Regions from separate parts of the Homo sapiens genome. Here all the other regions are linked to region 2. Evidence: promoter capture Hi-C in 16 types of primary human blood cells and fetal thymus (Javierre and others, 2016). All regions are on one chromosome and are shown on one strand. The core of a region is centred on a gene start or on the middle of the fragment in contact, and the rest is flanking DNA. Distances in the headings are between cores, read along the strand shown. Region 1 holds the start of ST8SIA4 (ST8 alpha-N-acetyl-neuraminide alpha-2,8-sialyltransferase 4). Region 2 holds the start of ARSK (arylsulfatase family member K). Region 3 holds the start of CETN3 (centrin 3).

Region 1 (4,168 bases), core at 894-3,393, 5.3 Mb before region 2:
TTATACCCGACCCCGTTCGCTGTGCTGCAAAGAGGAAATTCAAGATCTCGGAAGTTCTTAACTTCTTAAACTCTAGAGGAAGTATGGTAAACACTGGCGGGAACCTTGGGTTTTTAAGCAAAGATGCTGGCTGTTTTCGTTGCTATTTTAAGCTGTCAGGCGACAAGCAACTCAGAATTCCCCTTCTTACTTCCGGCGGGAGGGAAGATTGGAATTGGGCCTCATCATTTCTGAGCGTGAAAAACCGCTGAAGCTACTGTTCAACCTGAAGGAACACGGAATTCAACTGGAGAGAAACCCTGGCGACCAGGGAGCTGGGGACCGGCGCATATAGATGAGGGAAATCCTGGCTTCCAGACACTGTCTCATGCTAGAGGTGCCTCCCGACCTACCAGCCAACAGTAAAGACCGGAACCAAGGCGTGGTACTAGCAGAGTAGCAAGCATCTCTCCCAATGAGGGCAACGACTGGAGGATGGTGGAGAGGTACTCAGAGTGAACAATCGAACACAGAACTCTTGAAAAGTGTCCCTGCCACCCAATACAAGTACGAAAAATGGTGGGACGGAGGAGAGGTGACAATCAGAGGCTATATATATAATTGAGACTTTTAGAGAGGACTTTGCTCTTCCTTCCTCCCCTCCCTTTTCTTTCCTTTCTTTCTTTCCTTCCTTCCTTGGTATCCGAATGTGTGTGGGTGTACTTGCGTTTAAAAGAGAGGTCCATGGTAGCTGCTTTTTTTTCAGAACTCTGTTTCTCCGCAATGAAGTTTAAGTGGGATTGGAGTTTCCTTGACTTCTGCGTGAGGAGTTTCCAAATGGCAATGAAAGGGAGGCGCATAAATATCCATAAAGTTCCTAATGACACCTCTATCATCACTTGTTTCCTGCAGAATCCTGAGCCAGGGTCGTCGTCCACCACCCATGCAGAGTGGGCCCATCGGCTAACAGGTTCATGTGTGTATTTGCACTTTCCAGATTGAGTAATAAAAGTCTTCTTCCTTCCACCGCCGTCCCCACCCCCGCACCCCGTTTCACTCCACCTTGGAGGGCGTGTTTTTGCGTGTGAGGGTGTGTGTTTAGCAAAAGCGATTGAAAGAAGGTACTCTTCTTGCAATCCACCCCTAGCTCTACCTGAAGCATTCCTCTGGCGGGACGCTTTTGTAATCTGTCCCCAGGCGAGGTGCCCTCTCACCTAGATGCGGATAGACTATCTTGGAGCTCCCAGGTCCAGAGAGCTGATGCTTTGATGTCCCAGGAGAGTGTGTGTGATTCTGCGTGTACGTGTGTGTGCATATGTATGTATGTGTGTATGTATGTATATGTGTATGTGCGCGAGCTCGCAGGCGCGTAGCACTGTGAGCTTCCTCTCCCGGCACAGAGCAGGCAGAGCCGGGGACGTTACTCTCCAAGCAGCCTCCGCCCCCTCAGCCTGGTGATTGGCTTTGCGCAGCGTTTATCTCCTAGCAAGAGGGAAGGGCCAGTGACGCCCCCGAACCCAGCTGCAGAAGCTGCCGCCACCTCCAATGCACAAGGTGTCTCATCTGAAAAGAAACCTGAGCCCCAGGGAGGCGGCGCGGAGCGACCCTGGCAGAGCTGGCGCAAACAGGGCGAGAGGTCGCTGGGCAGCGTTCGAGGACCAGAGGGAGCTCGGCCACAGAAGACCCCAGTGATCTGATCCCGGGATCCCGGCTCCAAGCTCTCCTCGCATTTTACAGATTTCACCCCCGCGACTATCTCCCCAAAACGGAGCCTTTATATCAAGAGAAGGTGCGGGAGCTGGGGCAACCAGGACTTTCTCGGGCACCCAAGATGCGCTCCATTAGGAAGAGGTGGACGATCTGCACAATAAGTCTGCTCCTGATCTTTTATAAGACAAAAGAAATAGCAAGAACTGAGGAGCACCAGGAGACGCAACTCATCGGGTAAATGCAAAGCTTCATTTCAGGATATGACAAAAAGTCAAGCCATAAATGAAATGTGAATATAGAGGGTAGAGTGATGGTTAGGATAGCATGTGTGTTTGTTTGAGCTTGCGCGTGGTTAGTGTCATGAATTAAATAACAAAGGCTGTTGTTGAGATGTGCGTGCTTCTCTAAGCTGTTCCCAGTATGAGTTCAACTTGCTCTGTGTGGTTGTGGTGACAGTTGTGTTGGCCCTGGGTGCTCTCTCGCCAAAGGAGAAGTCACTGCAGAAGTGTCAACAAAGAACGTGTGTCCTTGTCCTTTTAATCTGTGGGCAGAACTCAAGAGAAATGTCTTTATTCACCAAACGGTTGCCTGTTTTCAATGTCCTATCACCTAAGGAGATACTGGAGATAGATGGTTTCTCGAAGGGCTGAAGTTAAAGCTTAGAAAGCAGGAAATAGGTATACTCTGTTTCTCTACTTTTTTTTTTTCTATTTGACGTTGGATAGATTAATGTGTTATAATTTGAATTAGAAACTCCAGTACCACTAAGGATACTTCCTTATTTGTTCTTCTACGGCTAAAACGCATGGGCGTCATGGTTACAGTTTTAGAAAGAAACTGGGTACTGTAGCTTCACACAGACTATATTTCTGCTATTTTTTTTAGTTTGTCTAGATGAGTTCAGACTCTCCCCCGCCCCACTAAGTTCTCTAAATATCACACTTCCTTCCACCCGCTGGCCTCTGTGTCTTTGAAGTTTACCCAGGAGGTGGTGCAACTTTGTGTTGCTGACATAGCTTGGAAGGCTTTTTCTGAGGATGTGAACCTGATTGTCAACTCTATTCAAAGTCCTGTTTCGGAAATCCTCCCTGTTCCGGTTTGGAGGCGTCCTCTATCAGAAACTACACACCAGCAGAGATGCCTGCCCAGTTTATATTTTTCTCTGACATTGATTAAAACAAAGAAAACAGCCCTTGCGTGTGTGTGTATGTGTGTGTGAGAGAGAGAGAGATGGGACTGCTAACACACACACATGCTCTTAAACTTCCTGCACTCCATTTCTTAATATTCCTGCTCCCTAGGTAATAAGCATTTATTTAAGCGAGCAAGATGCAGGTTGATCCTTACAGAAGGACTTGCTATTCTGTAGAAAACCAGGAAAACAGTAGCACAGTCAAAGCGGACTGGAAGAGAATGAAAAAGCTAGCAAGGAATGGGCTGGAATGGTCGTCATGCATCAACGAATCTATACATGGTCTATTCTGAGGGGGTAAAAAAGACCGGTATGAGGTCGTTTACACAAGACTGGGTGGCTTGAAAATCCAATCTAGCTCAGTTGTTAGAAAAGCAGGACTTTGGGCAGGGGCGTGGGCATCCCTTGCAGACCTGTGCTTGCCAGGCAGACAAAGGGGTCTTTAGAAAGGTGATGAATGGGCGCATGGGGCTCCGATGAGAGGCAGAGGCTAGAGCTTGAGGGTCGAGGCTCTTTGTTCCCTCCCGGGCCGTGGGCTAGGAGGATAAGCCTGATCCCAGACAAAGCGGCCAAGGCTCACTAGGACTCCGAGGGTTCGGGCCCTTGGCTGGGACCCTGGAGAGCAGGAGTGGGCGGAGCGAGTGAGAAGAGGGTCGCCAGATACTGCCGAGGTGTCCATCTCCGAGCCTCCCTAAACCGTGGCCAGGAAAAGGAGCGCACCTCGAGTCCCTGCGGGGAAGCGGAGCCGGGACACTCCGCATTGCACGGGTGTCATTTCTCCTGTGGCCCTTTCCTGGACGTTGCCGGCTGGTGGGCGCAGCCCTAGGCGTTAAGGAAGAGGAGGCGGGCACTGGCGCGGCGGTTGAGCTAGTCGGGCTGGGCTTTTGCCCGCATCCTTTTCAAGCTGAAGCAGTTTCCTCCCAGCTTGACTGAGAAGGCGTTGGGGCAGGCGCTTGAGTAAACCAAACAGGAAGAGAGGCGCGCACCGGGGTTATCCCCTGCTGCCAGAGCGCCGGCGGCGAGGGGGAAAGAATGAGTGAGAAGATAGGGGGAAACCTTTATTGCAGGACTCAGGCTCTTTTGGTCCCTCCCCTCCTTCCACCCCCACCCCACCCCCACCCCCCACCCAAAGTCACTTTCAAAGCTCAGTCGGCAACTGGCTCCTCCTTCTTAATCAAAACCCGCAATTACAGTGGGGCAAGGCAGAGGGCTGGCCGCGAACGTCGCGCTTACACCCGTGCCCTGTAGCGTCCTGACTGCCTTGGTCTCCTGAGAGACCAAGACTGT
Region 2 (4,368 bases), core at 128-2,627:
TCCTCACTCCTATTGGAAAGCAGCTCTGAAGCACCATACTAGTTTGAGAACTGTCATTCATAAGATGGCAACAAAATTCAGCTTCTCCTCTGCACAATCCTGCTTCCTTCATTTGCCTTTGATTACAAGAGCACTCTGTAATAAAATGCCATCTAGTCAATTTCCAGTACTGCCCATTCTCTAAGTTTAAATCACAAAGATAACTTTAAGTAATATTTTCAAAAAATCCCATGGGCACATCCAGACTATGTAATTTTAATCATCAGGAATCTACGAGAAAGGAAATACAACATATGATTACAAACACTCTTTAGTGCCAGATATGCTTAACACCAACATCTGTGTGACCACAGTAACACCGAGTGATAATAAACTAATATTACAATTAATAACCAAACAATTGTCTAAGCAGCACTTTTTAAAACATGGATCATCCTAAAAGCATCGCGTAAGGTTGACAGTAGCACCTTTGGCTTGGGAAAGTTTCAAAAACTGTTTAAGTTTGGGATTCAGCCACATTACCAACACACACACATACACACAATTTCTCTGGAATACGGGGGAGTGAATCAAGTTATACCAACGATTCCATTTGAATCAGCACTAACAGGATTATCACAGACCTGGGTAATAAAAATAAACTTTCTTCACTTCTCACCCAAACATGAATTCCTGCAAACTTGAGGTGAACTGGAAAATGACTTTTGGAAAGCTAACACGCTTTTATGGAGATGCAGAATGTTATTTTACCACACAATTAAACCAAACGGGGGTATGGACTGAAAGTTCATTAGTCGTGGTAAAATAATTTAGCGAATCGAGGTCAGTATTAAAAAAAAAAGATCTGCAAAGATGTTTTCAGTGTTTCACTATTGTTTTACATGTTTGCATAGGTATGTGGTGTACGTGTGAGTACACGGGGCCTCACATAAAATGTATTTCTTTCTTTGCATCGGGGTAAAAGGTGTTTGAAAATGTCTCAGGTTCTGCTCCCCAAAGCCTGCAGCACAGGCGGCGGCGGTGAGGTCGCCGATCCCCAGCGGGGCGCCCCTCCCCTGCCTCGCGGTACTTACGAAGGAGTCGCTCACGACCAGCACCACATTGGGCGCTTTGGCTGCTCTCCGCCTCTGCTCCCCTGCTCCGGGGGCCAGTACCGCCAGCGCCAAGGCTGCGACCACCGACACCCACAGCAGTAGCATCGCCGGTAGCGGTTCTGAGAGCCTGCCGCCGGGCCAGCCGCCTCCCTCTGGCGTTCTCTCCCTAGCAGAGCAGGGCAGGGACAGCGAACAACTCCCAAAGCTTGCAGTTTGGTTGCTTGATAGTAACGCCGAGCTTCACCCGCAGAACTACAACTCCTATCAGGCGGAGAGCGCGCACATGCGCAACAGAGAAATTCCCGCTTTTACCCACGTTAAGACCTTTTAATCAAATACCGAGCAAATCAGAACCCAGCCACTTCCAGTCACGTGAATGAGTCCTGGGAAAGGCGCATGCGCTCTCATTGCAGCCTCGGCGTTTGTAGAAGAGGAGCATCTGCTCCAGGTGGGTTTGGATTTCTGTCGGTTTTGCACAAGGGATCCTAAAGGCGATTGAAATGGTACTTAGAGAAAGAAAGGATCGGGGCCGGGGCTGTTCATTTTGGGCCGCGCAAGCGTGGCTGAGTGTTCGGCGAGAGCGTGAACTGGGCGGCGATGAGGTGGCGGCGCGGCTGTCACTTAAGTTGAATAGGGCGGTGCCTTGTGGGGCCTCTGGGTGGACCGCCTCAGGTGCGCCGTGAATGCCTTAGACCCCCCCGAATACCTTCCCAGGGAAATCTCTAGCCTGTCTCATCTTATTGCTTCTCTTACCCCGTGCAGTCAGGATTTACTGTGCTCCCATGGGGCGAGGAGCGGGGCCTAGTAAGAAGTTTCAGGCTGTAGGCAGGGGAAAGCATAGCTGTTCCTTGCCTTCAGAGAGCAAAGGAGATAAGCGAAACTGGAGGGGGAAATGGGCTGTGTGACATGTTCAGTTAGTTGACGTAGGTTCAGAATATCATTGTTTTGCTGCAGAATAAAAACCGGTCTCTTTTGACTGTTGAATTCCTTTGGAGAGTTCTGGAAGAAGCAGATTTCTGTCCCAAAGCCAAATTCCAATTTCTGTATCTAGTTTCGGGTATATAATTTGCACATCACACTAGTAGTTTTAATATTCTGACAGTTAAAAGAGGAGTTATACTACTTACTTAAGTCAACTGAATACTAATATCTGGCAGGTTTTTTTTTGCCTAAGATAATTGTAGTAAGGAACAGATTTGTTTATTTAATACTCACATGGCACTTAGGTGCTGAGCGTTATACTAAGCATTTACTGAGCATCTGCTGCGTGCCACGTACTTTTATATGGAATATTTTCTATAATCCTCACTTTCACCATATTGCAGATAGGAAAACAGGCTTAGAGAGGTTAAATGACTGGCCTGAGTTTACACAGGGAGCCAGTCAGAGCACGACTGAAAATTGAAGAGTCTGTGCCGTAACTCACTAAATGCTCTGTCTGCAGTTAGTTTATCTGTTAGTGTAGCAGAATTGTTACTCAAGCAGCATGATAAAGATCTGCGGGAGCATGCAAAAACGTAAACAGTGTTGGGCGCGGTGGCTCACGCCTGTAATCCCAGCACTTTGGGAAGCCGAGACGGGCGGATCACCGAAGGTTAGGGGTTCGAGACCAGCCTGGCCAGCATGGTGAAACCCCGTCTCTACGAAAAATACGCAAAATACTGGGCGTGGTGGCGGGCGCCTGTAATCCCAGCTACTAGGGAGGCTGAGGCAGGAGAATCACTTGAACCCAGGAGGTGGAGGTTGCAGTGAGCTGAGATCGCACCTTTGCACTCCGCCTGGGCAACAAGAGCAAAACTCCATCTCAAAAAAAAAACAAAAACAAAAAAACCCCTAAACAATAGTCTCAGTTTACATGAGTTTAGATTTCAGGGAAGCAAAACCAAGCATACATGAAATAATAATACAGCACGGAAGGTAATACAAGTGGGCTCTCTCATAAAAACAAATTTGTTTTGAGTTAATTTGGAATGTAGAACGTATTTTCTACCATAGTGACAATATTGACTGACATTTAAATTCATAAAAGTTATATTTAATTTTGTGTCTGATTCCATAAACTGTGCTTACTCTCTACAGCCTTGTTTCCACAGGACATGTACTCTGATGACAGGCTTACAAGAATACATCTTTTTCTTCTTTCTCCCCTTGGCAGTGTCAATAGGAGCAGGTGCTGCAGTGATTTGGAGCAAGACAGATATTTTAGAGCCTTAGAGACGTTGTGCTGGAAGAATCTAAGAGGCTTCTAGTCCTACTTCCCATCTGACATTCAGTTTATCCTAAAACATTCCTGCTGAGTGGATTGTCCAGCCTGTGCTTTTTCATCTCCAGTGATGGGAAACACTTCCATTGAGTACCTCATTCCACATTTATATAGGTCTCATTAAAAGTTCCTATTTTAAGTTGAAGTTAATCTTCCTCTATTTTTAACCATTCATTAGTGCATTTTTCTTCACTTTTACATGGATAATCTCTCCCTTTCAACAGTCCTTCCCCCAACTCCCTCGCCACCATTTATTTATTTTTCCTAGTCCCCAGTTTCTTCAGCTAGTTCTCATAATTTCAGGTTTCCTCATTGTTTTGATTACTCTTTTGTGAACGTACAACATTTTTGCTAATCAGTAATTCTATGCTATCAGAAAAGGTACTCAAGAGAATGTAACCATTTGCCTCACTGCCTACTTCCCTCCCGCCATTTTTCACTCCTGCATGCTCTCCTCTAGAATACTGAGTTCCGAAAGCCCTCTTTGGAAAGTGTGGGTCACAGATGCTTCTGTGGCTTGTTTTTCCCCAGGCGTGTGCTCAAAGTGTGGCTCAATAAACATCTACTGATTGAGACACTTCCCTCAGTCACTCATTTTTTTGTTAACACTGGTAAGCCTTGGAAGCTGGAAGATCATTAGCTATTTATTGAATATGTATTATCCAGTAAGTGTTGGGTATATAAGAAGCTCTGAAAATATAAGACTTACGTCTAAGAATTTATTGAATTGGGAGACATAATTGAATTATGTCTATATAGGATAATAAAAATAATATTTGTTAAGTTGCAGTTGAGTAGCTCAGTTTGGAGGTTTGGAGGAGGGAGTGATCCCTGTTGTAGGCTGTACTCTAGTATTCATGTAGTGTAGTAACTAATATGAAGAGGGTACTCATGTTTGATGATAGCTGTCTTGAGGAATACAGATGCTTCTTATGGTGGGTTACACCATGATAAACCCATTTTAACTTGAAAATATTGTACGTCAAAATGCATTTAATATGCTGATAAGCC
Region 3 (3,943 bases), core at 33-2,532, 5.1 Mb after region 2:
TTAGACTCAAAGGTGATTTATAAAGGTACTTTAAAATTTAAAATACGAACAAAATAAAAGTTCCACTTTTGTTTTTTAGGGGTGCTATCCCTTAGCTAATTTTTAGCTTATTCTATCATACTATCTTTCCTTGTGCAAATTTAGCCCATCCTTCTAGGTCTAACGTTTATGTCACCTCCTTTAAGAAGCATATCTTGTGTTCTCTCCCTTCTCTAAAATTTTATATACATCCCTTAAACATATAATGTTTATATATTCTCCGCCTTCAACTCCCATCCTCAGGCTATTTTATTCACGTTTATGAGATTTGCTGTTTAGCTCAGTATTTTGTGGATTTTCAAAAGATTCCACTCAATTTACCGAGCACCTACGCACCAGACATTTTATTAGGTACAAGGAAAAGCGTTAAATAGATATAATCACGGCCTCCAAGAAATTGAACCTAGTAAGAGACACGAATAAGCAGACATTCAAGTGAGCTTTAGGAGACTTGGTTTGGTAGTGAAGACAGTCTCATGTGTGTTAACAGCTTACAGCACTGAAAAATAAGAGACAGAAGGGAACAAATCCGTTTCAAACAGTTCAAAGGAGGAAAGAGAGGGAAAGGTGGTTTAGATACAGCTAAATCATAAATAGCCTGATAATCTAACCCTGTGATAATCCAAGTACAGCCACAGCACCTGCCTCAGAATCACTTGGAAGGCTTGTGAGGAGTAAAAACGCAGATTCATACCTACTGAAATTAGAATGGAGAAACGGACATTTAAGTCTGCATTTTAAACACATTCCCCAGGTACTGAGGCCATTCCAAGTTTTAGAACAGAGCACAGCCAATTTTCGCAGACCTTGTTCCTCAAGTACTCCCTCCTTCTAGCCGGAGGGTGGCCTGCAGCATGTCCCTTCCCTTCCCACCGCCGAAGCTGTCCATCCAGTTTCTGAATGGCGGCCCACAGACCGCACGGCTTTACGAGAGAGGAACACAGCGCCCACCCGCCAAACAGCCACACAGGGATCGGAGGCCGGACCCGCAAAGGATTCGGGGAAAAACGCATCGAGCCAATCCGAAGGGCGAGAGCGGCCCTAGATTGGGGGGGCGGGGGGGCGTTAGGAGGTGGGCGGGGCACAGAAAAAAAATTTTTTTTTCCTTGATTGACGTAAAACCTACCCAATGAAAATAGAACTGGTAAAGCTTCCGCCCCCTAATAGGCAGAACCATAGCGACATTTCAACCAATCCAGCTCAAAAGTGTCTATGTTGTGGGAGGTCCCTGAGGCCGCTGAGGTCGTTCGTGTCTGTTGAACGGCTGTGGGCGTCTTGCTGCCTTGGGTAGGGGGTTAAAATCGTTCTTGAGAGGAACGTCTCTGTGCGAAGAGATAATGAGTTTAGCTCTGAGGTCGGTAATAAGGAGGCGGCAGTGCTCTCCACACCCCGGAGCGGGGCCCAGGGAGGGTGTGTGTGGAAGGGAGGACGTTTGGGGCCGAGGCGAGGCAGGGGATGTAGTTTGGGACGCGGGAAAGGAGCCTAGGGCAGCCTGCCCGGATCACTCACCCTCTGGGCTCTGATGCCCTGCAGGGAACGAGACCAGTGCATTTCTGCTAAGGAGGTTATTTCTGTCAGCGCGTAGGGCTTTGGACTGCCAGAAGGTTGGGCTTAGTTGCGAGCGAGGTGGGAATGAAATATCGCGAGGCTTCTACTCTTGTTTCTCAGATCAGGTCGCGGACATCCCTTCATTCATCCGTGTGCCTGGTCAGGGCCCCACCTCGGCTGCTCCGCTGCTAATGCAATCACCCACCTATAAATTTTGGAAATAACAAAAACTCTTTCCTCTTCTCCCAGGGCCCTGCTTTACGGTGTAATTGGAGACCCATTTTAGTGACTTTAATTGGCAGTCTGTCTCTTGGATTTCCTAAATTTCTTGCATTTTTTTACCTTTCAGTTCTAACCTCTAACCCTCTGTTGCCCTCTCCCACTATGTAGACGTTGTACCGTAAAACTATCCATACACTTACGACACTCCGAAAATATTCCATGTTCTGCTAAGGGATAATCATGGTACCCTTGGATGGGGTCAGGGGTGGGTCGGTTCTGGACTTGGCCTCCAAAAGTCTCAGGAAGGAAAAGACTGACCCCAGGAATACCCAAGTTTGTGTCAAGTCAGGTCTCATGAAAGGAAGATCTTCCTCAGCTTTGTTATACTGCACCTACTAGTCACTTCCTAGCTTTTTTTTTTTTTTTTTGGAGCTTTCAGAGACCAAAACGACTTTCAAATGCAACTAGATAGGTGTTTTAAGTACAGTCAACTGGTTTGACATGTTAATGTGTTACCGGATTGTGTTTCAAAACTCGTTATTCCAGTGTTGCGGCTCCATTTGAAAATTTGGAGCACATTTAGATGGGCAGCTCTTAAGGAAAACATTTCTGGCTTTAAAATAATTTTTGCTTTTTTTCTTTAAGCGTTTCCAGAGTTTATGAGAAGTTAACCTCCGGTTTACATGTTAAATGAGACAAGACTCATCACATTTTTATATAGAATGAAGCACAAACATTGTATATTGGCATCTAATATTTGTCATATGTTTAGACTCATTAATATTTTCGATGGTTTGTTAATATCAATGGAGGAAATGACACATAAATTGCCAAACTGTTAAAAACGTGTAATCTAAAAACATTTTGAACCAACAGTGCTAAAATACTGTATAAGTTAATTCACTTTTTTTTTGTAATTTTATGAACATAATTATCAGAACTATCAACAGTAAACCGATATATAGTGATTGTCAGTTATGAATTTTGGTTTCATTTGGAGATTTTTTTTAAATTCTTTAACATTCTTGTAGGATAACGTGTTTTTGTTTTTTTGGTTGGAGTTGGTTGGAGTTTCAGACATAAAAGTAGTGTTGCTTATTCACAGTTCTTGTTTCTTCCACAGTAACATTAGTGGGAATAAATAAAAAGCTGGGAAAAAGAAAAGTTTGGTCCTCATTTCTTTTAATAATCTGTAACACTCTTTAGTTTTGCGAAGTTCAGATTTATAGCAATTTAGACTATGGAATAAACAGGTCATTGACTCATAAAGGGAAAGTTTCCCTATCTTTCTCCAAAGTACTTTCTTTTTTGAAATTTAGAAGGTAATTATTGGCTAATTTCTGTTAGTAAAGAGAATTAAAGTGGACTAAGGGCTTTTTCTTTCCATTTCATAGAAGTGAGCTTGTAGTGGACAAAACAAAGAGGAAAAAAAGAAGAGAACTGTCTGAGGAACAGAAACAAGAAATTAAAGATGCTTTTGAACTATTTGATACAGACAAAGATGAAGCAATAGATTATCATGAATTAAAGGTAATGGTATACTTTAAAATATTTGTTTCTGTGTTAAAATGATTTGCATTTTTACAGTTGCTTTACATTACATTTCTAAATAATTATTTTAACTAAATTGGTTTTGGAACTATGAAGGCATTTTAAGCATTCATAGTTAGATGCTGTAATAAAACTGAAGAGAACTCCTAACATAGTTTTTAGAAAATCTTTTTCACATGAGAAAACGAATAGTATTTTAAATGTAAAAATACATTCCCAGGGAAGGTGCTTATTTTTCACTGTCATAATTAAAGGATTTCAAACTGGAATTTATTCTTACCATCTTCTTTTCACTGTTTTTTGTTTTTGTTTTTGTTTCTTGGTGACTCATACTGTTTTCAGACTGTGGGAGTGTTGTCTTTTAATCTTATAATTTGGATTTGTTAGTAACATAGTCTCAATCCACTTTCTCTGGTGCAAACAACTTTAGTGCTGTTTGATGTTGACACATGCTAATAGGTAAAAATGTCAGCTTTAAGACCTAGAATGTCAAAGTGTAGGGAGAGATTTGTAAATTATTATTTGTCAGGGTATAAGGAGAGATTTGGGTTTAGGGTAGAATGGGACTTACTTTCAGCACAGT

The links. The method cuts DNA at HindIII sites, captures the fragments that hold promoters and counts their contacts. A CHiCAGO score of 5 or more calls a contact.
Region 1: a contact is called between a fragment that was not itself captured here and the fragment with the promoter of ARSK in region 2, in 6 of 17 cell types (total CD4 T cells, total B cells, activated CD4 T cells and 3 more). The highest score is 11.7, in total CD4 T cells.
Region 3: a contact is called between the fragment with the promoter of CETN3 here and the fragment with the promoter of ARSK in region 2, in 1 of 17 cell types (fetal thymus). The highest score is 5.8, in fetal thymus.

What each region holds. Positions count from the first base shown.
Region 1 is chr5:100,900,598-100,904,765 of GRCh38, reverse strand. ST8SIA4 (ST8 alpha-N-acetyl-neuraminide alpha-2,8-sialyltransferase 4) reads left to right here and starts at 1,484. Exons shown (of 5, transcript NM_005668.6): 1 at 1,484-1,923. The coding sequence starts at 1,811. It overlaps LOC107986437 (a long non-coding RNA gene), which reads right to left and starts at 1,358. Exons shown (of 2, transcript XR_001742825.3): 1 at 1-1,358. RefSeq lists enhancers at 82-321, 1,102-1,341, 1,827-2,396, 3,534-4,035, 4,142-4,168. The HindIII fragment of the contact is 412 bases long and covers 1,938-2,349 here.
Region 2 is chr5:95,552,110-95,556,477 of GRCh38, reverse strand. ARSK (arylsulfatase family member K) reads right to left here and starts at 1,377. Exons shown (of 8, transcript NM_198150.3): 1 at 1,074-1,377. The coding sequence starts at 1,199. SKIC3 (SKI3 subunit of superkiller complex) reads left to right here and starts at 1,501. Exons shown (of 43, transcript NM_014639.4): 1 at 1,501-1,542. The HindIII fragment of the contact is 6,579 bases long and covers 1,302-4,368 here.
Region 3 is chr5:90,407,095-90,411,037 of GRCh38, reverse strand. It overlaps CETN3 (centrin 3), which reads left to right and starts at 1,282. Exons shown (of 5, transcript NM_004365.4): 1 at 1,282-1,393; 2 at 3,204-3,339. The coding sequence starts at 1,377. LOC731157 (a long non-coding RNA gene) reads right to left here and starts at 1,038. Exons shown (of 2, transcript NR_105024.1): 1 at 734-1,038; 2 at 369-538. RefSeq lists an enhancer at 1,313-1,512. The HindIII fragment of the contact is 6,726 bases long and covers 1,192-3,943 here.